Regions from separate parts of the Homo sapiens genome. Here all the other regions are linked to region 2. Evidence: promoter capture Hi-C in human tissues and cell types (Jung and others, 2019). All regions are on one chromosome and are shown on one strand. Each heading gives the region's core, a stretch centred on a gene start or on the middle of the fragment in contact. The rest is flanking DNA. Distances are from core to core; before and after follow the strand shown. Region 1 has its middle 5.1 kb from the start of APOL1. Region 2 holds the start of MYH9 (myosin heavy chain 9). Region 3 overlaps APOL3 (apolipoprotein L3). Region 4 holds the start of APOL4 (apolipoprotein L4). Region 5 overlaps APOL2 (apolipoprotein L2).

Region 1 (5,302 bases), core at 885-3,384, 140 kb after region 2:
TAGTAGAAGGAAGGGCTTTATTCAGCTGGGAGCATCGGCAAGCTACTGCCTTAAAATCCGAGCTCCCTGAGTGCACAATTTCTGTCCCTTTTAAGGGCTCACAACACTAAAGATTTCACACGAAAGGGTCATGATTGATTTGAGCAAGCAGGCGGTACGTGACAGGGGCTGCATACACAGGTCGTCAGGGGGGAACAGAACAGGGCAGGGAGTTTCACAATGTTCTTCTACATAATGTAAGGAATCTATGAATAACATCGGCTTCTGAATCATAAGTTGATTTTTAACTAATGGGTTTAGGCCAGGCGGGCCCAGGCCTGGTTTCGGGCCTGGCGCCGGGCTGCCTGTCTTTGGTTTTACTTCCTTGTTGTTTTTTCTTAAAACAGGTACTGAGTACAAAACAATATAAAAATAATATGAGAGGGTCTTTCTCTTCCTTCACTATAACACAGTTTTCAAGCTTCAGTTTGCAGGACTTTAAGAAAAGCACAGTTTGGATTTCTGGTGATTCCAAGTCAGAAAAATGAGAGAAAAAGAAAAGCAAAATATTAGTTTGGAGACTTGTGGCCAGGAAAGAATTCAGTATGTAGTCCAGATAAACTGTGGACAAACAATACGGCTAGAAAACAATGGAGAAAGCTAGAATCCAATAACAGGCATTCTCTAGTTTCTTTTGAAACATACCTTTTCTCTCTCTAGTCCTGTATTTCTACCAAAGACAAATCATAGTAGGGCTAATTTATTTGCAACAGAAGTTTTAGTCTGATGGTTCTTGGCCTGATCATTTGTATAAAGTGCAGCAAGAATACTTATTTGGCATATGGGCTCCTTTTGGAAATTGACTTTGCTACAATATTTTCTTTTTCATAAGATATCTCAGAGTAGGCCTTTTAAAATCTCAAGCTCAGCCAGTGATTTATATTTGCCTGCAGATGCCTATATATATTAGGTGAGTTCCTTTCTCCTCAAGGTCCCAAGGTAACTTGGGCTTCCTGGGCCTGTCAGAAAGTGACATTCTTTACTTACCACAGGACAGGAACCCTGTAAAGGAACTGTATAGGCAAAGTTTGAGGAAAATTTTTCAAAGAGGCTTTCATCGGCTCTATAAGCCAGCCACCATTACTCAAAGCAGCCTACGTACATGTGGAAATATGCCATGCCAGTCAAAGCCTTGGTAAAATAACCAGTGTCTCTAGTTGTGTCCTGTTATGAAAGAAAACAGATTCCAACTGAACTTATGCAAATAACTCTATTGCCATGAACTAAGAATACTCACAAATAGTTTCCAAATTCTGGAGAAATCAGATAGTGAGAAAGAAATATGCTTCAAATTTTGCTCACAAGAGTATACTTTATTCAATTGTTAAAAGCTACATGGAGCCCAAAGGGAAAAAGAAGTTTTCTTGACTAAGAAAAACAAAACAAAAGAATCAGTCGTATATTAAACAAAAAGTCATTAAAAATTTATTTTTGTTCTCCATTAATTCATTCCCATGTAATAACCTTCTTCCACTTGATATTGGGTTAGCAATCTTCATGACCACATCAACTTTTGAATTACAGTCCTGGAAGATTTATTTTTTTCTTAGTCCGATGGCACAATCTGTAGCTGATCATAAACTGTTTTTTGAGATGTAAAGTAAACACTTTTTGCAGATAACAAAAGTATGAGAACAGCATTGGTAAAGACACATTCGACAAGGAAATTACTTTATTTCTGTGGCAAACAACTACTTAACATAATAATAATAATAGTTTCTGATAACATATGCCAAGACATATTAGACCTATAGAATCTCGTACAATTTTGGAACACATATTAATAACACATTTATATAAACATAATCCAAAGAATGTTAAACACCGTTTTATATTTGTCATGCTGGACCCCTATGCTAATGAGCTGACAGGACACAGACTTGGAGAGACAGAAGAAAAGACCTGGAGACAGCAGGTGAGACATAAGCTTTATTCAGGGAGCTTATGTACAGGTTGCCCAGGAGCAGCAGGCAAGACAAGAAATCCCCTCCTGTTTGTCAAATGCATGCAGGTTATATGATATTCTTCCCAGAGCAACCTCCACTTAGCACCTCTGCCAGGAAACCTCCACCTAGCCCAAAACAAAAGGTCTTGATTCCTTGCACAACCTCTGATCCAAGGAACAGAGTTCTTCATAAGTATGATGTAAACATCTGGATTGGCCATTCCCGGGATCCATACCTTGGAACACTGAGCAAAAATTCACCAAGGAATGTAGGGTTATTCTTAGGGGATGCTTCAGTTATTGCTGTCTGACGGGACATGCCCACCATGCTCTCCACACCCCTGCATAGCCTTGAATGGCCCTCACAATCTCATCACACTGTTTTTCTGTGATTTTCCTGGGGCCAGTTTTGTGGAAGAGCATTGCAGCCAGACACCCCAGCAGCAACACTAACCTCAACAAAGGATTATGAACGCAATTGCAATTACGCTAGATACAAAGTTTCTCCACGTGTCTGGGAGTTGATTAAACCATGAGGTGATAAGATCATAAGACAAAGACTCTGTGGCTGGACTCTGGGTATCTAACGTCAGCAGAGCCTGTGTTATGTTATGAGAGTAATGAGGGCTATATACACAACATTTTGTTTTAATTAATGCACAAGCTCCACCATGGGCAGCAGTTGTATGATTTTGGGTCATACGATTTTGCAGAGGAACATGCCTGATCTGGGTGGTTTCTTGATTGGGAAGTGTAAAACGATGGTGAGTATCATTGAAGGCTGCAGCTGTGTGTTTAGCCAGCACACGAATTGCAGCTCTGCATTTACAGTTGCCACTTTGGAGGCAAAGATGGCCAAGGGGTAGAACCACCAGTATGCACATATCTGGTAATCTCTAGCTTTTACCGTTTTCCAGTTACTGGGGGTCGTGTCTAAATGGGGAACTATATACTGTGGCAATTAAGGATGCCCTGAGATGCATCTGCCAGTCCAGTTGAATGGCAAATAAGGCCAAGGGTGGGTGACACAGGCCCACAGCCATCTCCATCTCCATGGGGATTGGTAGGCACCCATATGCAGAGACTTATTCTACCAACCCAGCCATGTATCATTGCTTAACCCAAGGGCTTGGTGACATTGTTGTACAGGTAGTCACCCCATATTGTGGGGTTAGCCGGTGATGTGCTGTCATTGTGTCTACCAATACACAGTTGCACAACTGACTACCTGTATTTGTACTATGGTTGTTCTGTCTGCTGTTATAGCTAAGGTGCAAGTTTACCCATGCCCCACTGCACCAAAGCAATTGCAAACCTTCCCCGGCCTCTGGGAATAGAATCTTCACTGCACTACAATTGCGCAGTGAAGAATTAACTTTATCCCAGGAGAGGTCTTCCCATTGTCCCCTACCCCTGCGAAGTGATCTCCAGGCCCCTGGAATGCCCTGCCTGGTAGGAATGTCTTTGTTTCCCTGGTGGTTTGGCTACAGGACAGTATAGCAAATGTGATGGATGATGGGGGTTTGGGGCTATTGGGTATCTCTTCTCACCACCAGAGGATCTGGGGACTAAAGGTGTGAGACCTCAGGGAGGGGCTGGAAACTCCAGGTCAGCCATGAGTGCAGCCTGTGGTCAAGCCCCAGCAAACACTCTGGACACTAAGGCATGGGTTGAGAAAGACTTTCTGTTTGACCAGACTCCAGTTGGGCTCTTCTGAGCCTCTTCTCCTCTAGGCACCAACCTTGGCCTTCCATGCCCATCCCGTGCTTGCTGGGCCTGCACAACCCTGGCTCAGCAAGAATCCCCCCGAGTCAGTTTAGGGAGGGTCCTCCCTTCTTACTGTCTGAGCACACTTGCTATCTGATCACTCTCCTCACCTGCCCCTTGATGGGTGAGTGTCTGACCTGCCTTTAGGGAAAATCCTGTTAGGCCAGTTTAGCATGAACCCCCGACTCTGGTGCCTCCTGTCAGTCCTGTTCCATCTGCTGCCCCTCACTCTGGTGTTGGCTGTGACTCCCCCTCTGTCTTTACTGTATTGGGAGCTGGGCTCAGTCTCCCTCCCCTGTAACAACAATCCTGAATAAAGGCTTTCTTCCTGATTTAATGTGATTCACAGGAATTTTTCCTTAACTGGGTGAGCTTCCCTGGTTGGCAACACCCCATGTGTTTTGTCCCACATTGACACAGGAGAACGCAGCCTCCTGAGGACAACGAAGCTTCACACCTGAAACCCTCCTAGACTCTGCCCTGTGTGTCTTCCTTAGGCTGATTTTAACCTGTGTTTTTTCCCTGTGATAAACCACAGTCATGCAATAACAGTTTTCAGTGAGTTACGTGAATTCCTCTAGTGAATTATAAAATCTAAGGACGGATTTAGGAATCCCCTTAAATTTGCAGTTAGTGTCAAAGATAAGGGTGCCCTCAGACATTGCAGTTTTGGTAACTCTGAGTACTCAGAATTCAAACAAAACCAAAAACAGACCTACACAAGATCACTTTGCCTGGCATCTGCTCTCTTCCAATGCCTCATGCCCTTTGACCTTCTGACTGATGGTCACTGGTTCCAAGCACCGCACCAGTTGACTGGAGGAGGAGACCTGGCTATTAGTTTTGGAGAGTCCACATGGATTCTCCAGCCACCTTACTGCCTCCTGACCTACCACCTGCACCTCCAACCTTCCAGGTCTCACTTTCAGATGTCACCAGCCTAATCGATGCCTAAGGAGTGATGGCTTCACCTCTGTGCTTGCCAAGGCCATGTGCAATTTTATGGAGCCTCTAGAAGACTCAAGACACTTTCAGAACCATCTATATAAATTGCTAATGCTGAAAAGACCTGAATTTGGACAAGATGGTAGACGAAGTGTTTTCCTCTTTGGTTGGCAACTTATGGGTTTCCTCAGAACCCCTGAAATTACAAAAATTGGCAGCCACCCATTCTGACTCCGGAAGTGGTCACTAAGCCACACTGCTTTCCCAGGGTCAGGGGCTACTCTATGTAGAACACAAGAGGGTCCCAAAGGGCACGCAAAAACTCCACAGTTCTCACAGTTCTCAGGCTTGGTGTGGGGGAAACCGTCACTCACGGCCCACTATGCCAATCACTGATGGGATCAAATCAGGGAGGGAAGAAATATCCCTCTCCCACTCATGTGTCCTCTGCAAGTCAATGACCTCCTTACGTTTGGTGTCCTTGGTGCCTCCCTCCTCTCACCCTAGTCCTGGCCCTGGTGTCCCAGCCTTCCTACTTACCTTCCAATTAGGCCCACTTATGCCCATCCTGACCCCTGGTTCTGCCCCTGGTCCAGGTCTATCTGG
Region 2 (5,694 bases), core at 2,405-4,904:
TAGATACCAGAGAATGGAGTACAGAGGAGGAGTTCCTAACTGGTCTTGAGAGTCAGGAAAGATGTTTTAGAAGTGGTGACATCTGGCCGGGCGCGGTGGCTCACACCTGTAATCCCAGCACTTTGGGAGGTCGAGGCGGGTGGATCACAAGGTCAGGAGTTCGAGACCAGCCTGGCCAATATGGTGAAACCTCGTCTCTACTGAAAATACAAAAAAATTAGCCGGGCATGGTGGCACATGCCTGTAATCCCAGCTACTTGGGAGGCTGAGGCAGGAGAATTGCTTGAATCCGGGAGGCAGAGGTTGCAGTGAGCCAAGATCGCGCCACTGCACTCCAGCCTGGGTGACAGAGCGAGATTCCGTCTCAGAAAAAAAGGAAGTGGTGACATCAACATGAGTCTTTTTATTTTTTAATTTTTTTTAGATGAAGTCTCACTCTGTTGCCTAGGCTGGAATACAGATGTGTGATCTCAGCTCACTGCAACCTCCGCTTCCTGGGTTCAAGCGATTCTCCTGCCTCAGCCTCCTGAGTAGCTGGGATAACTGGTGCATGCCACCACGTCCAGCTAACTTTTGTATTTTTAGTAGAGATGGGGTTTCGCCATGTTGGCCAGGCTGGTCTCGAACTCCTGACCTCAGGTGATCCACCCGTCTCAGCCTCCCAAAGTGCTGGGATAACAGGTGTGAGCCACCATACCTAGAATGAAATGAGTCTTTCAATTTTTGTATTTTTTCTTTCTTCTTCTTTTTTATTTTTATTTTTTCCAGAAACAGGGTCTTGCTTTGTTGACCAGGCTGGAGTGCAGTGGCATGCTCACAGCTCATTGCAGCCTCAAACTCCTGGGCTCAAGCAATCCTCCCACCTCAGCCTCCTGAGTAGCTAGGACTGCAGGCAAGTACTACCATGCCCAACTAAGTGTGTATGTATATTATAGGCGTGAGCGACCACACCAGGACAAAATCATGTTGTAACAGCATTCTATAAATTTGCTCTTCCTCACTTAGTAGATTTTCTTTTTCTTTTCTTTTTTGAGGCAAGGTCTTACTCTGTTGCCCAGGCTGGAGTGCAGTGGCACGATCAAGGCTCACTGTAGTCTCAACCTCCCAGGCTCAAGCAATCCTCCCAGCTAAGCCTCCTGGGTAGCTGGGAATACAGATGTGCGCCACCATGGCAGTCTAGTTTTTGTATTTTTTGTAGAGATGGGATTTTGCGATGTTACCCAGGATGGTCTTGAACTCCTGGGCTCAAGCAATCCTCCCACCTTACCTCCCAAAGTGCTGGGACTACAGGCATGAGCCACTGCGTCTGGCCACTTAGTATATTTTCAATCAGCAAATACAAATCTACATAAAAATTTTAATGACTTTTTTTGTACTTTTCGACATATGACTATATCACAATGTATTCAATCTTGTAATATATTGTACATTTATTTCTAACATTTAGTGACTATAAACAATGTTGCAAAGAACTTTTTTTTTTTTTTTTTTTTTTTTTTTTTTGAGACGGAGTCTCGCTCTGTCGCCCAGGCTGGAGTGCAGTGGCGGGATCTCGGCTCACTGTAAGCTCCGCCTCTCGGGTTCACGCCATTCTCCTGCCTCAGCCTCCCAAGTAGCTGGGACTACAGGCGCCCGCCACTACGCCCGGCTATTTTTTGTAGTTTTAGTAGAGACGGGGTTTCACCGTTTTAGCCGGGATGGTCTCGATCTCCTGACCTCGTGATCCGCCCGCCTCGGCCTCCCAAAGTGCTGGGATTACAGGCGTGAGCCACCGCGCCCGGCTGCAAAGAACTTTAAAGTTCATATCTGTGTACTTTTCTAATGTCTTTTAAGATGAATTCTCAGATAGAATTGATCAATTTACTTTCTCATCTGTATCTATAAACCTGACCAATATTGAGCATTTTTTTTTTAATTAGGTGAAAATGGCATTTTATGTTGTTTTGTTTGCATTTCTTATGGCTTTTTAAAAATAATTATTGGCCATTTATAATTCTTCTTTAAAATCACCTGTTCCTGTTTTTGGCCATTTTTATTTTGGAGTCTTTGAGGTTTTTCTTTTTCTTTTTCTTTGTTTTTTTTTTTTTTGAGGCGGAGTTATGCTCTTGTTGCCCAGGCTAGAGTGCAGTGGTACGATCTCTGCTCACTGCAACCTCCGCCTCCCGGGTTCAAGCGATTCTCCTGCCTCAGCCTCCTGAGTAACTGGGATTACAAGCATGGGCCACCATGCCCGGCTAATTATTTTGTATTTTTAGTAGAGACGGGGTTTCTCCACGTTGGTCAGGCTGCCCTTGAACTCCCAACCTCAGGTGATCCGCCCGCCTCGGCCTCCCAAAATGTTGGGATTACAGGCATGAGCCACGCGCCCGGCCGAGGTTTTTCTTATCAACTGGGAAGAGATCTTTATATATTGCTGATAGTAATTTGTCACAGAGTTGCAAAATCTTTTTTTCCCAGCTTTCTTTTGCCTTTAGAACATAGCTTTTTTCTGAAGTTAATTTGGAAGAATAGTCATGATAGCAAGCACATTCCAGTAAGAAAGAGTAATGATGAGAAATTTGCCCTCATAGATATAGAATGTATTATAAAGGTATCTTCATTAAAGCATGGTGGGATTGGCACAGGTGCACACAGAGAGATCAATGTATACAAGTCAGAAACAGCTTCAAGTATAATAGTTCTATAGGCGATGAAGGTGCCAACTAAAATCAGTGGAGAAAACAGTGTTTGGACAAGTGGCTATTACAAAAATTATCTTAGGTTTCTTCCTTACCCCAAAAATAAATTCCAAATGGATCAAAAGATTTTTCATTTAAAAATGAAAACATTTTTTATCCTCTTGTAGTGGACAGTAACAAAAAAAAAGTGCAATTTGTAACAAGTACCTGAAAGGATGTATGCGAGTTAATGACATGGAGGTGAAGAGAGGCTCGGAAGGGTATTCCAGGTGGAGAGAACGGCCAGAGCGAAGGTTTGGAGGCTGAAAGGCAGCAACGTGCGGATCCTAAAGAGGCAGGGTCAGGAATCGAACTCAAGACGCTCACAATGGAATCCAGGGCTGAGTCCATGCCCGCCCCCACAGGGATCATAATTATGTAAAATAGCATTTTTCCCATATATGGTACTTAATATCTGTCCTTGTGGTGGGATGACATGAGACTGAGAGCACAGCTCGCGGGGCGGGGTGTCAGAGTTCCAGACCTTCCCAGTCGGCTCCCGCAGGGCCTCGCCCCGGCCCAGGCAAGGCACCAAAACCCCGGCCCGGAGCTCTCCGCGCCCCGAGTCGCCGCCTCCTGATTGGATTCCCCCTGTGTCAATCCTTGTCCTAGAACCTGGCTGTCCGTTGGACCCGCCCTAGAGGGCGGGGCTCCCGCCTAGGAAGCGCGGGGGAAGGTGGAGCGGGTGGAGGTGGGGCGGAAAGAGGATGTTGAATCCCCACCCATCTGGCCGCAGAGGCTCCGCCCACCCCCTTTCCACAGGCCAATACGTCTGCCCATCAAGGCCAGGCGCGGCCTGCAGTGGGTGTAGCAGGAAGGGGGCGGGATTGTGCCCCAGGCTCCGCCCCGGAGCCGGCTCCCGGCTGGGAATGGTCCCGCGGCTCCGAGGGCGGGGCGGGAAGGCGGCGAGGAGCCGAGCTGGGTGCGGTGAGGCGCGCAGATCACCGCGGTTCCTGGGCAGGGCACGGAAGGCTAAGCAAGGCTGACCTGCTGCAGCTCCCGCCTCGTGCGCTCGCCCCACCCGGCCGCCGCCCGAGCGCTCGAGAAAGTCCTCTCGGGAGAAGCAGCGCCTGTTCCCGGGGCAGATCCAGGTTCAGGTGAGCGAGCCCCACCGCGGTCCCGCCCCGGGCAGGCGGCGGCGGGCGGGCGGGGGCGAGACGCGCTGCCGCCAGGCCGACTGGTGGTTCTTGGGCTCAGTGCGGCCCGCCACCCGCGCGGGCGGGGGCGAACGCCGGCGGCTCAGGGCCCGGCACCGCATCCTTCCCAGGGGGACCGGGACCCCCACGCGGGCGCTCGGGGAGGGCGCCGGCAGCAGCGAGGCCTAGGGGTGCAGGGGCGGCCTCGGGACCCGGCGCTCCCCGGCGCCCCCCGTGTCCCCCGGCGCGGTCTCAGGACTGGGCACTGGAGCCGACCTCCCCCAGCCGCTGGGGCACGCGCCCCGCCCTCGCCTCGCCCAGGCCCGACTCGGGCAAACTTTTTAACCCCTTCCGGGAGCCGCGGCCCCTGGGACGCAGCCTCACGGGTTGGGAGCCCGGGGCAGCCGCTCCCGTGGAAGTTTCTGGCGTCTGAGGCACGGAGGTAACGGGCAGCGGGCACCGTTTGGCAGCTGTCAGGGCGTCCTCCTGAGTCAGAGTCGGACCGTCCCGCTGCAGACCTTGCACCCGGCCCGGTTTCCGCCTCCGCGGCCGACTTCCTCATTCGCCCGCTGCCGTCGGACTGGTCGGGGAGGGCCCGGGGGAGGTGCGGCGGCTGCCCGGACAAGGGGGACCCGGCGGGGACCCGGGCGCGAGACAGGAAGGGCCACCCCCAGTCCCTGCTCCAGCCCTCGACCTCCGACTTCTGATCCTCGGGGGAGGGAGGCCCGGAATGCAGCAGCCGTCGGGGCCGCCCAGGCGTGCACCTGATTCCACCGCACCCAGGGGCCATCCCGTCTGGGCGGGGTGCGGGGGCAGCTAGCTCTGCCGTTACGAGCAGGCCTGGGCGATTGCATCTTTCCTGTTTGAGCCAAATCGGAGTTTTCTATTCTCCACTCCACGCACCCGCTTCCCTGTGCTGGGGTCCTCACCCCATCCTGTTCTGGGGCCACGCACAGGAGACAGGACTGCGGCACCCTCATTCTCCAGGGAAGCCCCGCTGTTTCAAACTGAGACTCAGCACCCCCAGCACTAGCTTGCCGGCTGTCCTGTGGTGGGGGGCAGGGTGAGCGCACGGCCCCACCCAGCCGGTGTGGAGAGAAGACTCCTTGGGAAGTCCCAGGTCGTAGAGGCAGGCGGCTGTCTCCACCGGGCAGTTGAGAGGCCCAGCCACTTCTCGGTTCACTGCGCCCTTTTCTGGGTTTAACAGGATTTCAAAGTGACTGATGAGTAACCGTGGAAAGGGAAGAGAGCCTTAGCTCCTTCTCCGTGCAGCGCAGCACTGTGGCCATTCTAACTACACTGTCTGGGCCAGTGTTTGGCTCACCTGATGGCTTAGGAGTCCCTTTTTGGTAAGGAGGGAGGCCTTTTGAGACAATCACTCAATTAATAATAGTCAGTTTATATACAAGGCTGCTATGTGTGGGGGAAGGGGACACAGATGTGTAATTGAGCAAATATTTAACTGCCCTCTCTGTGCCAGGGACTCTGCCAGGTGGTGGGGGGGTGGGAGGTTGAGTAAGACCTGGCCCGTGCCCATGGGCACTTAGGGGAGAACTGAGACAAATCTGTAGATGAGTCTAACGTGAGGTAGAGATGACAGGGACCCCGGAAAGGTACTGTGAGTCATGGGGATTGGGAGAAGGGAGCCAGACTGCCCTGTGAAATCCCCGGGGCCCTGCCTCTGCCCTTGGGGAGTTTACAGTCCTCAAGGGGAAAGTGGCAGAACCAGTGAAATACAAAGGCAGCCTGTGATGTGTGTCCCAAGTATGCCATAGACAAAGGACTCAGGAATTTCAAGGCTGAGAGGGGCCACTTCTCTTGGGCAAGGAGGAGGCTGCTAC
Region 3 (5,287 bases), core at 2,109-4,608, 240 kb after region 2:
GCCAACCCCGGAATCCTTCAGAAGGGCTTGGCTGGGAGGCTCAAGGAAGAAACTCTCTCTCCGAAACAAGATGATCTGTGGTTTAATAACGCGGCCAGCTGGGTTCAGAGGTGATAGTGGGGAGCCATGTCCCCTGAGACCAGCCTGCAGAGGACAGAGGTAACACAGAAGGGCCACAGGGATCAGTGCTGAGGGTCTTGCTCCCCTGCCCGCCTAAAGAACCCCCTCCACTGCCCATCTGAGAGCGCCCATGAGCAGCAGGAGGAATCCTCTGTGCATGGTAGTTTATTCAATGGTGTAGGGTTGAAATATTCTTTTTCAATAAAATGTTTAAAATCCCACAGGTATACTACAGTGGAGAATGCAGGAACCACAGGCATTTTCAAAATATATGGAGTCTTCAAAGTAATGGCAAGGGAACGCTGGCCTTGAGTCAAATCCTGAGCTTCCTGCTTGCTGGGTTGGGTGGTGTCTTTCGCTGTCTGGGTCTCAATTTCTCCTTCTGTGAAATGAGAATGAGGCCTCGCAAGTGTGTCCACGGCAGGAAACGATTTTACCTCATGTCCCAGTGCATACATAAATCCATACTGCTTCCCAGTCCCTTCTCTGCAGTTCCATAATTCCCAAATCCCTGCAAACCACACATTTTTGGGGCAACTCATCTGGGCAGTAATCCTGCTGTGTACTAAGATGCTTTGTACTGATAATATTATGTATCCCATTTAAGGTGAATATTCATTGGTTTCTCTGTTGAAACATTTGTACCTTTGATTACAAGGTTGAAACATTTGTAGCGTTGACCAGTGTGGGAGTGGTCAGTGATACAGCATATGCACCCTGTGTCATATTGACACAGATTGAAAATGCTGCCATCCTAAACACATCTATATCCCAGGAATTTACATAAGGGTATATATATATACACCCTTATGTATATATATATTATATATATTTCAAATATCTTACAAAAGAATACTCACTCTTGCTGTGTTCAATACACTCTGATATTTTCAATGCTCTTTTCTTTTTAAAATGCTGCTCTTGACAAAATGAACTATTTTCATAACCCACTGATGGGTCGAAACTCAGATTTTGAAGACACTGGTGTAAAGCGTTTGACAATAGGCACATGGCAGAAGGAAGCGATCACTGGAATATTTCCCGTACATGGGGAGAAAGCATGGTGGAAAGCTCACTTTCTGGTGATTCTCAGCTGAAATAGATCGGTTCCTCCACAAAGCACCATGGCACTTCCCTGGTGAATCACTCTTCTCAGGATGCCTTAGTAAAACGCCACAGGCTGGGTGGCTCCAACAACTGATGTATTTTCTCACAGTTCTGGAGGCAAAAATTCCAAGGTGAAGGTGCCAGCAGGGTTGATGTCTGGGGAGGGCTCTGCTCCTGGCTTACAGAGGCTGCCTCAGGGCTGTGTCCTCACATGGCCTTCCCAGTGTGGGGGGTGTATGTGTGTGTGTGTGTGTGTGTGTGAGTGTGTGAGAGAGAGAGAGAGAGAGAGAAAGAGAGACAGGGAGAGAGGGCTGGAAGGCAAGAGAGACAGCGAGGGCGGGGTGGGGTGAGGAGAGAGAGAGAGATCTTCTGCCTCTTTTTTTTCTTTTAACTAGACACCAGTCCTGTAGGATTAGGGCCCTACCCTTACGACTCTCTTTAAATTAATGACTTCCTTAAAGGCTCAATCTCCAAATATAGTTACTGGGGTTTAGGGTCTCAGTATATGAATTTGGAGGGCACACAACTCAGTCTATAGCACTGATGCCTCCATCAAAAATACCCCATGTGACAGCTGGTTGAGGAGGATTAACCTCGAACCACCTTATTCTCAATGCCATTTAGGCTGTAGCACACTTTCTTCCAATCTTATGCTTTTTGTTTCCAAGTAGAAAAGAAACGCTTTACTGAAGAGGCCACCAAATACTTCCGGGAGAGAGTCAGCCCAGTGCATCTGCAAATCCTGCTGACTAACAATGAAGCCTGGAAGAGATTCGTGACTGCGGCTGAATTGCCCAGGTAACCTCCGTGGGGTTACCTCCATGGGGCGCCCCGGCTATGCCATCCTGATCTCCCCTGGGCTAGTTTTCTCTGGCAGGCACACCTCCTCCAGGCAGCCCCCTCTGCTGAACTTGAGAATGTCCCTCTCAGCAGTCCAGGAGGAATATTTCCTCCAAGTCCTTCGCTGGCAGTGAGTGACCTCAGGCTGAGGGGAGAGGAAGCCCACAAGGGCAGGGTCAGTTCTGCCATCTACTGGTGATGGGAGCTTTGCAAGCTACTTGACTACTTTCTGCCTTCCTTTCTTCATCCATTGAGCTTTATTGTGAGAAAAATAAGCTAATGCATGTAAAGTATTTAGCATAATGACTGACACATGGTAGGTGCTCCGTTAATGTTACCTTTTAAAAAGATTGCTGGGGAGAGACCAGGACCAAAAGTGTTTTTCTTTTTTTTTCTTTTTTTTTCTTTTTTTTTTTTTTTTGAGACAGAGTCTTGCTTGTCCCCCAGGCTGGAGTGCAGTGGCATGATCTCGGCCCACCGCAACCTCCGCCTCCCGGTTTCACGCCATTCTCCTGCCCCAGCCTCCCAAGTAGCTGGGACTACAGGCTCCGGCCACCGCATCCGGCTATTTTTTTTTGTATTTTTAGTACAGACGGGGTTTCATCGTGTTAGCCAGGATGGTCTTGATCTCCTGACCTCGTGATCCTCCCGCCTCGGCCTCCCAAGGTGCTGGGATTACAGGCATGAGCCGCTGCGCCCGACCAAGTGTTTTTCTTAGAGTTGGATGCCCAGCAGGACTTTCTTTGAAAAAAGCCAGAAAAATCTTGACCTGATCAATGTGTGTTCCTGGAGATGCTGTCCGGGGCCCTTTTCTTCCACCTCTGAGGAACTGCACAAACACAGCAGGATCCTCCTGCTGACACAGAACACAGAGAGGCTGGAATGGAGTTGGACAGAGCTGGGGGTGGATCTTGGCTCTGTCCCTGCACAGCTCTGGGGCTGTTGTTTTATGTCTTGGAGACTGGGACCTGCCATCTCTCCAATGCTAATAGTAGTTCAATCAGATGGGCGTGTGGTTAAAGCCTGAGAATGAACAGCAGGTCAGAGGTGGGGAACCAAGTAGCATGATGCCATCCAAAGACCCAGAGAGACGTTTCAGGGGCAGAGCCAGGGGTCAGGATGGGGCAGGGGTGGGCCTGGGTTGGAGGAGCAGCAGGAAGGCTCGGGCACCAAGGCTGGGAGTAGGGTGAGAAGAGGGAGGCACTGAGGGCATGAAAGGTAACGTGGCCATGGACTTGCAGAGGACCAGTGAGTGGGAGAGGGATATTTCTTCCCTCCCTGATTTGATCCCATCACTGATGGGCATAGTGGGCCATGGGTGACTGTTTCCCTGACAGCATGCCTGGGAACTGGGGCATTCTGAACTGCCATTTGGGACCCTCTTCTGTTCTACATAGAGTAGAGGAAGTGTTTCTTCGGGCCAGCTTGGAGAGTTGGAACAAGTGTCTGCCAACTGGGTAATTTGAAGGGTTCTCAGGAGACTCACAAGTCCCCAACCAAAGAGAAAAACACTTTCTCTATCATCTTGTCCAAATGCAGGTCTTTTCAGCATTAGTGATTTATAGAGATGATTTTCAAAGTCTCATGAGTCCATAAGAGGTTCCATGAAATTGCACATGGCATTGGCATGCACACAGGTGAAGCTGTCACCTGCTAAGGCATTAGTTTGGCTGGTGACATGTGACAGTGAGACCCTGAAGCTTGGAGGTGCCAGGTCAGGAGGCCGTCAAGTGGCTTGAGAGTTCATGTGCAGCCAGGACTAATAGCCAGGCCTTTCACTTTTCAGTCAAAGGGGGCAGTGGCTGGACCCAGTGGCCTTCAGTCAGAAGATCAAAGGGCATGTGGCATTGGAAGAGAGAACATGCCAGGCAAGGTGATCTCTTCCAGTCTGAGGTTTTATTTGATAGCTTAAGGACTCAGAGTTAGTCAAAATGCAATGTCTGAAGGCACCCTTCCTTCTGACACCAGTTGCAGATTTGAAGGTGTTTCTTAAGCCCCCACTCAGGTTTGATAATTCACTACAAAGACTTACGTAACTCACTGATAACTGTTATTGCACGATTGTGGTTTATCACAGGGAAAGAACACAGATTAAAATCAGCCTAAGGAAGAGACACACAGGGCAGAGTCTGGGAGGGTTTCAGGTGTGAAGCTTCGTTGTCCTCAGGACGCTGTGTTCTCCTGTGTGAATGTGGGACAAAACACATGGGGTGTTGCCAACCAGAGAAGCTCACCCAGTTAAGGAAAAATTCCTGTGAATCACATTAGATCAGGAAGCCTTTATTCAGGATTGTGTTACAGGGGAGGGAGACTGAGCCCAGCTCCCAATATAGTAAAGACAGAGGGGGAGTCACAGCCAACACCAGGGTGAGGAGTGGGAGATGGACCAGTTCTGACTGGAGACACCAGAATGGGGGGTTTCTGCTAAACTGGCCTAACAAGCTGCTCAACTAAAGGCAGGTAAGGAGCGGGTGAAGACCGTGATCAGACAGCAAGAATGCTCAGACAGCAAGTGGGGAGGACCCTCCCTAACTGCCTTGGGGGATTCTTGCTGAACTGGGGCAGTACAGGCCCAGCAAGCACGGGATGGGCATGGAAGGTCAGCGCCTAGAGGAGAAAAGGCTCAGAGCAGCCTGACTGGAGTTTGGCCAAGGAGAAAGTCTTTCTCAACCTATGCCTCAATGTACAGAGCTCTTTCTGGGGCTGGATCACAAGCTGTCCTGATGGCTGACATGGAGTCCCCAGCCCCTCCCTGAGGTCTAACACCCTTAGTTCCCAGTTCCTTTGGAAGGCAGAAAAGATACGTAATAGCCCCAAAACCCATCACCCATAACATTGCTATACTGTGCTGTAGCCAAACCACCAGGGAAACAAAGATGTTCCTACCAGGCAGGACATTCCAGGGCCCCAGAGATCCCTTCCCAGGGCCCAAAGACAAAAGAACGACCTCTCTTCTAATAAAGTTAATCCTTCACTGTTCTATGATCCTCTGAATGAAGGTCTTTTTGCTCCGAACCCACTTCTCTTTGTTCATCTACAAAATTTCCCCTCTCCACACACTATTGGAGGGATGATGTTGACCTCTCTTGCTTGAGGAGCCATCTTTATCGAATACCTACCACTAAAGAGCATCTGAAGATGACTTTAAGTTTTTTATTCCCATACAGAATAAGTACTGTGGCATATCTATGATATACAAAACATGTTTAACCTTGGAAAA
Region 4 (5,599 bases), core at 1,994-4,493, 190 kb after region 2:
GTAAGGCAGGCATCAGGGGAATGTGGAAGCACGGGAGGACGGGGAGTAATCTGAAGGGTCCCACAGTATGTCAGTGGCAGGTCTTTCTTCCTGAAGACTATAGCAGACCCCCAACCCCGAGGATGCCAGGCAGGTGGGTTGGATGAAAGAGACCTGGAGGTCTGGTCTCAGGCTGCTCCTCTAAGCGCAGCAGCAAGGAGGGTGGGGCTGGACTGCAGGAGGTGCTGGGGAGCAGCGTGTTTGCTGTGCTTGATTGTGAGCTGCTGGGAAGTTGTGACTTTCATTTTACCTTTCGAATTCCTGGGTATATCTTGGGGGCTGGAGGACGTGTCTGGTTATTATATAGGTGCACAGCTGGAGGTGAGATCCACACAGCTCAGACCAGCTGGATCTTGCTCAGTCTCTGTCAGAGGAAGATCCCTTGGTAAGTTGGGGATGGTGTGACCTCCCTCCATCTCCTTATTCTCGCAATAGCTCTATGAGGGAAGGATCATTCAGCTTTTGTAGATAAGCTCGGAGAGGTTAGGTAACTCGTTCAGATCAGACAGGAAAGCAGTGGTAGAGCCGGGATTTGCACCCAGGCTTGAGTCTGATTGCTCCCTCCCTCCTGCTGGGCCCTTAAACCGTAGAGAGAGGTGGGGAAATAGCTCAGATGGGTTCACAAAGCTCTCTGGGCTCAGCTCTGTTTTAGACTGCTGAGACATGGCCAGGTGACCCCAGAAGGAAGGTTTGTGTTGGGGGTGCCCATCTCTTTGGGAAATTTGAAGGAATCAAAGAAGGTGGAGGTGGGGAGGTGACCTGGAGCCCGGTCTGTCCTTATGGTCTGGCCACAACCAGGCTGGCCCCGGGGTGCGGCTGCTGAGGCCTGATGAGGCAAGAGATTTCTTTTGAGATACAAGGAACCTAGAGGTCATCTCACCCACCCTGAGTCTGAGCACCTACTTGTGCCAGGCCCTGTGGGGAAACTGAGGCCCTGGGAGGGGAGTGACTTGCCCAGGGTCCAGTGTCAGGAGGCTGAGCAGGTAGATCATAGGACTCCATGTCTGTGGCCCTCACCTCTGTCCCTCTGTTCAGACCTCTGGGGTGATGGAGAAGAAACAGGCTGTGCTGTGTCCCTAATGGGAAACTGTAGGGAGACCCCCTGAAACTATTGCTACGGAATAAAAGATGAAATGCTCCTGATTATTGTAAATACAAAATTGCATGCAGGATTGTGTAAAGACAATGCCAGGTTGGACTGCCAGAACGAACCAACAGCACGTGATGTGCTTCCCCCTGCAGAGAGCCTATGAATGGATGCAGGGGGGCGCCTGTCCATATGGACAAGCTAGGGCTATAAATGCTATCATCTTGCCGTGGCTCTTCTAGGCATCTTTAGGGTTCAGGTATACTCCCTTCTGAGAATTTCTAGTCTAACCGGTTATCTAGCTTCACGTCCTGTTTCCATGGATTGTCAGTAACCAGCTTTTGTTGCAATTGTTACTGCTGATTAATATCTTGCTAATCATAGGTTATGGAAAGATTGTGTTTCTGTTTTAAGGCTCTGTTAGAAATTACTGACGCACACACTATATTGTAAATTCTTATCTCTGTATACTGTACTTCTACATACAAATGCACTGTACTTCTACATACGAATGTTATGTTAAAGAATTACTTCATCCCCATGTGACCATCCCACCTCGTAATCAAATGACCCTAAATCCCTCACTAACCTACCCCCGCCCTCACTAAACTGAATAATAAATGCTGGTATATCCAGTGCATTGTTGACCAGAAGGCGGTGACCCCCCTGGACCCAGCTTTCACTATCTTGTGTGTGTCTATTATTTCTCAACCTGCCGATCCGCCTAGGAGCAAAGAGAGAGCCCCGTTGCACTGGGGGCTGCTGGCCAGATCCCGCAATAGGAAACATGGCTGAGACAGGGGAGTGAGAAGGTCGCATTGCAGAATGGTGCCTGTGGCATGACGCCAGCTTTGTAATCATGAGATTCAAAAGCCACCTGTGGAATTGTGAGTGTAACTACAGGAGTGAGAGCTTAGATCTCTGTGTTTGTAGAAGCAGAATCAAACCTGGACACTGTTGGATTACTAAAATCACCCGTTTTTCTTCAATAGCAGAGTCACAAGGGCAGATGTTGGCTTCCCGTCTGCTCTCCAAGAGCTGTGCGACTCTGGGCAAGTCACCTCCCCTCCCAGCCTAAGATTTTCCCCTCTCAGAAACCTGATAGAGCTGCCAAAAGTCCATGAAATCAGGGGGGTAATTTCTGTGAAATCTGAGTCGTGGTCTTATTTTTCTTTTTCTTTTTTTTTTTTTCTTTTTTCTGAGATGGAGTCTCGCTCTGTTGCCCAGGCTGGAGTGCAGTGGCGCAATCTCTGCTCACTGCAAGCTCCGCCTCCCGGGTTCACACCATTCTCCTGCCTCAGCCTCCCGAGTAGCTGGGACTACAGGCGCCCGCCACTACACTCGGCTAATTTTTGTATTTTTAGTAGAGATGGGGTTTCACCATGTTAGCCAGGATGGTCTCCATCTCCTGACCTTGTGATCTGCCTGCCTCGGCCTCCCAAAGTGCTGGGATTACAGGCGTGAGCCACCGCTCCCGGCCTGATTTTTCTTCACCAAAAAGAGATGCCCATCAAGATAGAAAGCACTATAGCTGAAGCCTGTAATCCCAGTGCTGTGGGAGGCAGAGGCGGGAAGATCACTTGAGGCCAGGAGTTCAAGACAGCCTGAGAAACACAGGAGATGCTGTCTCTATGAAATCAAAAATTAACAAATTAGCCCAGCATGGTAGCGTGCACCTGTAGTCCCAGCTACTCAGAAGGTTGAAGGAGGAAGATCACTTGAGCCCAGCAGATCTAGGCAGCAATGAGCTAGGATGGCGTCAAAGCCCTGCAGCCTGGGTGACACAGCAAAACGGTTTATTAAAAATGAAATGAAAATGGTGATTTCTCAGGAGGAGCACACTGTCTCAACCCCTCTTTTCCTGCCCAAGGAGGAGGCCCCGCAGCGACATGGAGGGAGCTGCTTTGCTGAAAATCTTTGTCGTCTGCATCTGGTGAGCTTGGCTCAGAGCCCTGAGGTGGGAGGGAGGGCTCCCTGTCTGGGCTGCACAATTGGGCAGGGCTTGGGCTGGGCCAGGAGCCATGTGGGTTTTTCTAGGAACCAAAATCACTTCCCGGAATTGACCAACTGGTAGACTCGCCTAGAGGGGACGCACTGTGTCCTAGTTGAGGCTAACAGTCAGTATCCAGCCTCAACATTCAGCAGAGGCCCCAGATCAGCGTCTGAGCCAGGCCAACAATGACCAAGGAGGATGGGATCCTGGGTGCAGCTCATCACAAGCGTCGGGTGAGTCCGAGGCCCCAGCTCTCTGCCCTCCTGCTCCTCTGCTCTCTCCTGGTCCTCCCAGTTCTACTGGCTCATGGTGTTGAGATGGTTGCCTTGGCCTAGGGGGTCACACAGTGAACAAAGCAGGAAGAAGGCGAAGGGATGCCCCTCTCCTGTCACCCCTGTCCCTTACAGCAAGAAGCGCCCAGACGCCCCTCTGCATACTCCCCTGGTGAATGCTGCCCAGGACTGGGTCCCCCTTTTACCCTTGTTGCATGGGGGCCCCAGAAGACAGACATCTGTGTGTCTGAACCCTGAGACAAAGGCAGGAAAGGGAAAGAGGGAGGCGAGTGGCTTTTGAGGAGGGGGCTTTAGTATGAGAGCTGGAGGATGGAACCCCATCAGGGGGCCCGGGAACCACTGAGCTGTTAAAATAAAGTCTGCAAACAAAGACCAGCTGCTGGAAGTGGGTGTGCCAGGGAGTGCGCAGAGACACACGGTGAGAAAAGAACAATGGTAATGCTTGGAGCCGCCCCTAACTGGGATGGGCCTGAAATGGTATTGTTATTATTTATAGTATCATTATTAGTCATTTTCATCTTATTTGTACCCTCCCTCTATCTCTCCTCTCCACCTTTTCCTAACATTCTATCACCAGTTTTATGTCTTCCATTAGCAACTTTGTAGCTGTAAACAATTTACTTACAACTTTCTTATACCCTCAGTTGTACCCAGTATTTCTTAACTTCCATCTTTAAAAAATGACAATATTAATCCTCCTTCTCCTTTGTTCAGTGCTTCACATCTCAACTGCTACCTTCGTGCCTTAAAGTTTGTACTAATTGGTATTGATAACAAGATATTTAGTTCTCAAATTTACATGTTGTGTATATATTTTTTGTCCTGATAAAGAGACTACTGAGAGCCAGTAAGACTGAAAGAATGGGCATCTTCATATACTGCTAGTTTGAGTGTGAATTGGTACAATTTGCATGTAGTGTGGCTCTAGGTATAAAACATTTTGAGATGTTGATACCCTCTGACCTAGTCATTCTACTCCTACAAATATCTTAAGGAAATAAAATCAAATGTGGGCAGTTTTACGTGAAGGAGGGTGTTCTTTGTAGCATAATTTACATGAAGAATTAGAAACACCCTAAGGTCCATCAGCTAGGGGAGGACAGCAGAGGGAACAGGGCAGCGCCAGGAGGGCTCGGCAGCCACAGCAGGGGCTAGGCCGGCATCTGGCAGGATCCAGGTCTTTGTGGGACAAAGGATCTTAGAGAAGCAAGGGGGACACAGGCTGTCCACTGCAGCACCAGTGAATTCACCAAGACGAAAAGTTGAGCACGGAGTGTGAGACATGGATTTGCAATGAGGAGTCATTTACCATGAGCGTGTATACATGACTCAATATTGTATATTTAAGGGAGTAGAGCACAGTCATTGAAGACATGAGGTTGAAGCAGAAGTCCTGGCTCTAGCAATAGAAAACACTGGCAAGTTCCCTAACTTTTGTGGATTCCTCTGTGTTCAAATGGGAAAGTGGTACCCATCTCCCGGGCTGTGTGTGATCATTGAATGAGACACATGTCAGAAGCCCTGCACATCACAGGCCCGGCGCGACCGCTCACGCCTGTAATCCCAGCACTTTGGGAGGCCGAGACGGGCTGATCATGAGGTCAGGAGATCGAGACCATCCTGGCTAACACGGTGAAACCCCTTCTCTACTGAAAATACAAAAAATTAGCCGAATGTGGCGACGGGCACCTGTAGTCCCAGCTACTCGAGAGGCTGAGGCAAGAGAATGGCGTGAACCTGGGAGGCGGCGCTTGCAGTGAGCCGAGATCGCGCCACTGCACTCCACCTGGACGACAGAGCGAGACTCCGTCTCAAAAAATATAAATAAATAAAAATAAAAATAAAAAAAGAAGCCCTGCACATCACAGACACTCAATACAGACTGGCTATCATCAATTAGTTGTCACACATGTTTCCGGTCATTGTTAGAACGTTCCTTCCCATCTCTATTTCTGCGTATAGACTGTGTAGTTTCTGTAATGATCAGATGGCTGCCCCTCCTCTGATTATCTTCTCCTCATTCTCCAACAGGACAAGCGGACTTTTCCTTGGTGTGAGAGTGAGGGAAGAGGGAGCTGGAATGAGTTGAGTGTCTGTAAATAGCAGATGATGGGGACTTGGTGATAGAGAAAGAATCTGGGTTAGGTTGGTCTTGGCATTTGCTGCCACCTCAGAGGGATCTGCAGA
Region 5 (5,647 bases), core at 2,037-4,536, 160 kb after region 2:
TCTGCTGGTGATGGGAACTTTGCCAGTTACTTTCTCACTTTCAGCCTTTCTTCATCAATGGAGTTTTATTATGAGAAAAATGAGATCATGCATGTAAAGTGCTTAGCATAATGACTGACACATAGTAGGTGCACAGTTAACGTTAACATCTTACAAGCTTGGTGGAAAGAGACCAGGGTTAAGGATCTTCTTCTTGAAGATGGGAGCCCAGCAGGACTTCCTTTGGGAAAAGTCAGAAAAATCCTAACCTAAACAATATGTGTTCCTGGGGATGCTGGCTGGGGCCTTTTTTCTCATCTGAAGAATTCCACAAACACAGCAGGACCCTTCTGCTGGTCCAGGATCCTGAGAGGCCTAGTTCCTGGGCTCTGGGCTTATGTCATGGAGACTTGGAACTGTCTTCTGTCCAATAGGAATAGCAATTCAATGTCATAGGAGTGTGGTGAAGGCCTTAGAGGCAACTCCAGGTCAAAGGTGGGGAACCAAGGACTAAGATCCTGCTCAAAGGCCCAGAGAGACCGGGACCAGTGTCAGAGCCTGGAGTCAGGATGGAGTAAGAGTCAGCCTTGGTTTGGTAGGACAAGCAGGAAGGCTGGGGCACCAGGGCTGGGACTAGGGTGTGGAAAGAGAGGCACCAAGGGCTTGAAACTTAAGGAGGTCATGAACTTGCAGAGGACATGTGAGTGGGAGAGGGATATTTCTTCCCTGTCTGGATGATCCCAACACTCATGGGCATACAGGGTCATGGTAGCCTGTGTCTCTCACCCCATGCCTTGGAACTGGTGAGTTCTGGACTACCCTTTCAGACCTTCTTCTCTTCTACACAGAGAAGCTCCTTACCATGGCATGCCTTAGTGACCATTTCCAAAGTAGAATGAGTTGCTGCCAATTTGTGTAATTTCAGGGGTACTGAGCAGACTCACAAAGTCCCAACCGAGGAGGAAAACACTTCCTCTACCATCTTGACCAAATTCAGGTCTTTTCAGCATTAGCAATTTATATAGATGGTTCTGAAAGTGTCTTGAGTCTTCTAGTGGTTCCATAAAATTGCACATGGCCTTGCTGTGCACACAGGTGAAGCTGTCACTGCTAAGGCATCAGTTAGGCTGGTGACACCTGCGAGTGAGACCTGGAAGGTTGGGGGTGCAGGTGGTAGGTCAGGAGGCAGTAAGGTGGCTGGAGCGTCCATGTGGAGCCAGAATGAATAGCCAGATCTCCCACTCCAGTCAGCTGGGGCAGTGGCCGCACCCAGTAGCCTTCAGCCAGGTGAAAGGGCATGAGGCATTGGAAGGGAGCAGATGCCAGGCAAAGTGATCTCCTGTCTTTCTGAGGTTTTGTTTTTGTTTGAATTCAAAGTACTCAGAGATAGCCAGACTGCAATGTCTGAGGGCACCCTTACCTTTGACACCACCTGCAAATCTATGGGGATTCCTAAAATCATCCTTAGATTTTATAATTCACTAGAAGGACTCACGTAACTCACTGAAAACTGCTATTGCACGATTGTGGTTTATCACAGGGAAAGAACACAGATTAAAATCAGCCTAAGGAAGAGACACACAGGGCAGAGTCTGGGAGGATTTCAGGTGTGAATCTTCATTGTCCTCAGGAGGCTGTGTTCTCCTGTGTGAATGTGGGACAAAACACATGCGGTGTTGCCAACCAGGGAAGCTCACCCAGTTAAGGAAAAATTCCTGTGAATCACATTAAACCAGAAATGAAGCCTTTATTCAGGATTGTTGTTACAGGGGAGGGAGACTGAGCCCAGCTCCAAATATAGTAAAGACAGAGGGGGAGTCACAGCCAACACCAGGGTGGGGGCGGGAGATGGAACAGGACTGACAGGAGACGCCAGAGTGGGGGGTTCCTGCTAAACTGGCCTAACAGGATTCTCGCCAAAGGCAGGTCAGACCCTCAACCACCAGTGGTGGGGGTGAGGAGCATGATCAGATAACAAACGGTGCTCAGACAGCAAGCGGGGAGGACCCTCCCTAAACTGATTTGGGGAGATTCTTGCTGAGCCAAGGTGGTGCAAGTCCAGAAAGCAGTGGGTGAGTGTGGAAGGCCAAGGTCGGCGCCTAGTGGAGAAGAAGCTCTGAAGAGCCCAGCTGGAGTTGGTCAAGGAGAAAGTCCTTCTTTCTCAACCCATGCCTTAGTGTCCAGAGTATCTGCTGGGGCTGGATCACAAGCTGCCCTCATGGCTAGAGTCTCCAGCCCTTCCCTGAGATCTCACACCTTTAGTCCCCAAGTCCTCTGGAAGTCAGGAAAGACACCAAATAGCCCCAAACCCTATCATCCATCACATCGCTATACTGTCCCGTGGCCAAATCACCAGGCAAAGAAAGATGTTCCTACCAGGCAGGACATTCCAGGGGCCTGGAGATCACTTCCCAGGAGCTGAGGACAAAGGGAAGGCCTCTCTTTGGGTAAAGTTCATGCTTCACTTTCCTGCCATCCTGGTAATAAGGTCTCTTTGTCTCACTCTCACTGCTCTTTGTTCATCTGCAGAGTTTTCCCTCTCCAAACACTTTGGCAGTCACGGTGTTGACCTGCCCTTGAGTGAGGAGGCATCTTTATCAAACACCTACCATGAAAGAGCATCTGAGGTGCCTTTAAGATATTTATTTCCATATGGAATAAGTACTGAGGAATATCTATGATGAACAAAATGTGTTTGAGTTTGAAAGATAATTAATTCCATTTGTAAAATTTGTTTCTATTTGATTGATAGTGAAAGCTCTGCAATTTACACAGGATAGAGATCGCATGGAGCTCATTTCACAGATAGGGAAACTGCATTTCTTAATCCTTTAACCTTTCCTTGTGCAGGGATGAGGCAGATGAGCTCCGTAAAGCTCTGAACAAGCTTGCAAGTCACATGGTCATGAAGGACAAAAACCGCCACGATAAAGACCAGCAGCACAGGCAGTGGTTTTTGAAAGAGTTTCCTCGGTTGAAAAGGGAGCTTGAGGATCACATAAGGAAGCTCCGTGCCCTTGCAGAGGAGGTTGAGCAGGTCCACAGAGGCACCACCATTGCCAATGTGGTGTCCAACTCTGTTGGCACTACCTCTGGCATCCTGACCCTCCTCGGCCTGGGTCTGGCACCCTTCACAGAAGGAATCAGTTTTGTGCTCTTGGACACTGGCATGGGTCTGGGAGCAGCAGCTGCTGTGGCTGGGATTACCTGCAGTGTGGTAGAACTAGTAAACAAATTGCGGGCACGAGCCCAAGCCCGCAACTTGGACCAAAGCGGCACCAATGTAGCAAAGGTGATGAAGGAGTTTGTGGGTGGGAACACACCCAATGTTCTTACCTTAGTTGACAATTGGTACCAAGTCACACAAGGGATTGGGAGGAACATCCGTGCCATCAGACGAGCCAGAGCCAACCCTCAGTTAGGAGCGTATGCCCCACCCCCGCATGTCATTGGGCGAATCTCAGCTGAAGGCGGTGAACAGGTTGAGAGGGTTGTTGAAGGCCCCGCCCAGGCAATGAGCAGAGGAACCATGATCGTGGGTGCAGCCACTGGAGGCATCTTGCTTCTGCTGGATGTGGTCAGCCTTGCATATGAGTCAAAGCACTTGCTTGAGGGGGCAAAGTCAGAGTCAGCTGAGGAGCTGAAGAAGCGGGCTCAGGAGCTGGAGGGGAAGCTCAACTTTCTCACCAAGATCCATGAGATGCTGCAGCCAGGCCAAGACCAATGACCCCAGAGCAGTGCAGCCACCAGGGCAGAAATGCCGGGCACAGGCCAGGACAAAATGCAGACTTTTTTTTTTTTTTTTTTTTTTTTTTGAGATGGAGTCTCGCTCTATCGCCCAGGATGGAGTGCAGTGGCTCAATCTCGGCTCACTGCAAACTCCGCCTCCCGGGTTCACACCATTCTCCGGCCTCAGTCTCCCGAGTAGCTGGGACTACAGGCACCTGCCACCACGCCCGGCTAATTTTTTTGTATTTTCACTGGAGACGGGGTTTCACTGTGTTAGCCACGATGGTCTCCATCTCCTGACCTCGTGATCTGCCCACCTCGGCCTCCCAAAGTGCTGGGATTACAGGCGTGAGCCACCGCGCCTGGCCAAAATGCAGACATTTTATTAGGGGGATAAGGAGGGCAAGGTAAAGCTTATGGAACTGAGTGTTAGTGACTTTGGCATTTGTGTAGCTGAGCACAGCAAGGGAGGGGTTAATGCAGATGGCAAGTGCACCAAGGAGAAGGCAGGAACACTGGAGCCTGCAATAAGGGAGGAGAGAGGACTGGAGAGTGTGGGGAATGGGAAGAAGTAGTTTACTTTGGACTAAAGAATATATTGGGCGAAGAATAGAGGGGGAGCTTGCAGGAACCAGCAATGAGAAGGCCAGGAAAAGAAAGAGCTGAAAATGGAGAAAACCAGAGTTAGAACTGTTGGATACAGGAGAAGAAACAGCAGCTCCACTACCGACCCCCCCCCAGGTTTGATGTCCTTCCAAGAATAAAGTCTTTCCCTGGTGATGGTCTCTCGCTCTGTCTTTCCAGCATCCACTCTCCCTTGTCCTTCTGGGGGTGTATCACAGTCAGCCAGTGGCTTCTTCATGATGGTGGTTGGGGTGGTTGTCATGTGACGGGTCCCCTCCAGGTTACTAAAGGGTGCATGTCCCCTGCTTGAACCCTGAGAGGCAGGTGGTAGGCCATGGCCACAATCCCCAGCTGAGGAGCAGGTGTCCCTGAGAACCCAAACTTCCCAGAGAGTATCTGAGAACCAACCAATGAAAACAGTCCCATCGCTCTTAGCCGGTAAGTAAACAGTCAGAAGATTAGCATGAAAGCAGTTTAGCATTGGGAGGAAGCACAGATCTCTAGAGCTGTCCTGTCGCTGCCCAGGATTGACCTGTGTGTAAGTCCCAATAAACTCACCTACTCACCAAGCTGGACTTGTTCGAGTCATTCTTTGGTCTCTCAGCTCCTTCTAAGCTTTGGGGGCCATCAGTCTCAAGTTTTTCTCGTAATGGTGGTGATGGTGGTTGTGATGGCAGCAGAGTGGTGGGGGCCTTGGCAAGTGGTCGGTGCTCTTCCAGACCAGGGGACACCGATGGACCGATGAAGTTCCAGGGGAACTTGAAGTGCTGTGTTGGAAAGAGGTTAATTTGGGAAGAAAGGAAAAATGAAAGGAGATGCCAGGAACAGGTCAAGGAAGCTTGAGGTGTGTCCAGGAGTTCAACCCTGCTTGTGGTCATGAGACTTCACCCCTCTGAGCCTCAGTTTCCTCATCAGCTGTAGAAGGGGGCTGGAAAAGGTGATATCTCAGGTCCACCTTGCTCTCCCCATCTTGTGTTCTGGAGACTTGAGTCAATCAGCACTGACTGATGGCTGTGACTTTGTGGTGCCGATGGAGGCTCCCCTGGGCTCTGGGTGCCTGACTTAACCTTCCTCATGATCCTTCTTCCAGGGTCTCAGGGAGCGAAGTTTCAAGACCCCTTCTGCTCGCTCACTGGACTCTCACTTTCCCAGCTGGTCATTTCCCTGAGACCTCAAAACCCCAAGCCCATTGGGGCACTCGGGGAAAGCTTGTACATGTCTGGCTCTGGCTGAGCACAGGTGTGGTTTCCATCTGTGAGTCAGAGCCCGGGATTGACACGGGACACTCGAGGCTAACTAGTGTCAGAGGGGCCTG

The links. Contacts are between HindIII fragments. The study calls those that stand out against the background at their distance.
Region 1: a contact is called between a fragment that was not itself captured here and the fragment with the promoter of MYH9 in region 2, in 5 of the 25 tissues and cell types used here (dorsolateral prefrontal cortex, heart left ventricle, liver and 2 more).
Region 3: a contact is called between a fragment that was not itself captured here and the fragment with the promoter of MYH9 in region 2, in 2 of the 25 tissues and cell types used here (dorsolateral prefrontal cortex and mesendoderm cells).
Region 4: a contact is called between the fragment with the promoter of APOL4 here and the fragment with the promoter of MYH9 in region 2, in 2 of the 25 tissues and cell types used here (adrenal gland and mesenchymal stem cells).
Region 5: a fragment that was not itself captured here is called in contact with the fragment with the promoter of MYH9 in region 2 in 1 of the 25 tissues and cell types used here (dorsolateral prefrontal cortex).

What each region holds. Positions count from the first base shown.
Region 1 is chr22:36,245,375-36,250,676 of GRCh38, reverse strand. No RefSeq gene overlaps it. Among named protein-coding and RNA genes, the nearest start is that of APOL1, 5.1 kb to the left of the region's middle. The HindIII fragment of the contact is 5,646 bases long and covers 1-4,957 here.
Region 2 is chr22:36,385,927-36,391,620 of GRCh38, reverse strand. MYH9 (myosin heavy chain 9) reads left to right here and starts at 3,654. Exons shown (of 41, transcript NM_002473.6): 1 at 3,654-3,814. It overlaps MYH9-DT (MYH9 divergent transcript), which reads right to left and starts at 3,027. Exons shown (of 3, transcript NR_183573.1): 1 at 2,886-3,027. RefSeq lists enhancers at 3,343-3,637, 5,261-5,310, 5,068-5,694 and silencers at 3,431-4,010, 4,041-4,120, 4,401-4,630. The HindIII fragment of the contact is 20,760 bases long and covers 1-5,694 here.
Region 3 is chr22:36,142,211-36,147,497 of GRCh38, reverse strand. It overlaps APOL3 (apolipoprotein L3), which reads left to right. Exons shown (of 4, transcript NM_145639.2): 3 at 1,899-2,025. Among named protein-coding and RNA genes, the nearest start is that of APOL3, 16 kb to the left of the region's middle. The HindIII fragment of the contact is 7,006 bases long and covers 1-5,287 here.
Region 4 is chr22:36,199,453-36,205,051 of GRCh38, reverse strand. APOL4 (apolipoprotein L4) reads left to right here and starts at 3,243. Exons shown (of 4, transcript NM_001386885.1): 1 at 3,243-3,352. The coding sequence starts at 3,318. RefSeq lists an enhancer at 2,768-3,267. The HindIII fragment of the contact is 28,208 bases long and covers 1-5,599 here.
Region 5 is chr22:36,225,463-36,231,109 of GRCh38, reverse strand. APOL2 (apolipoprotein L2) reads left to right here. Exons shown (of 5, transcript NM_030882.4): 5 at 2,830-4,901. The coding sequence ends at 3,706. Among named protein-coding and RNA genes, the nearest start is that of APOL2, 11 kb to the left of the region's middle. RefSeq lists an enhancer at 3,269-3,947. The HindIII fragment of the contact is 3,547 bases long and covers 1,513-5,059 here.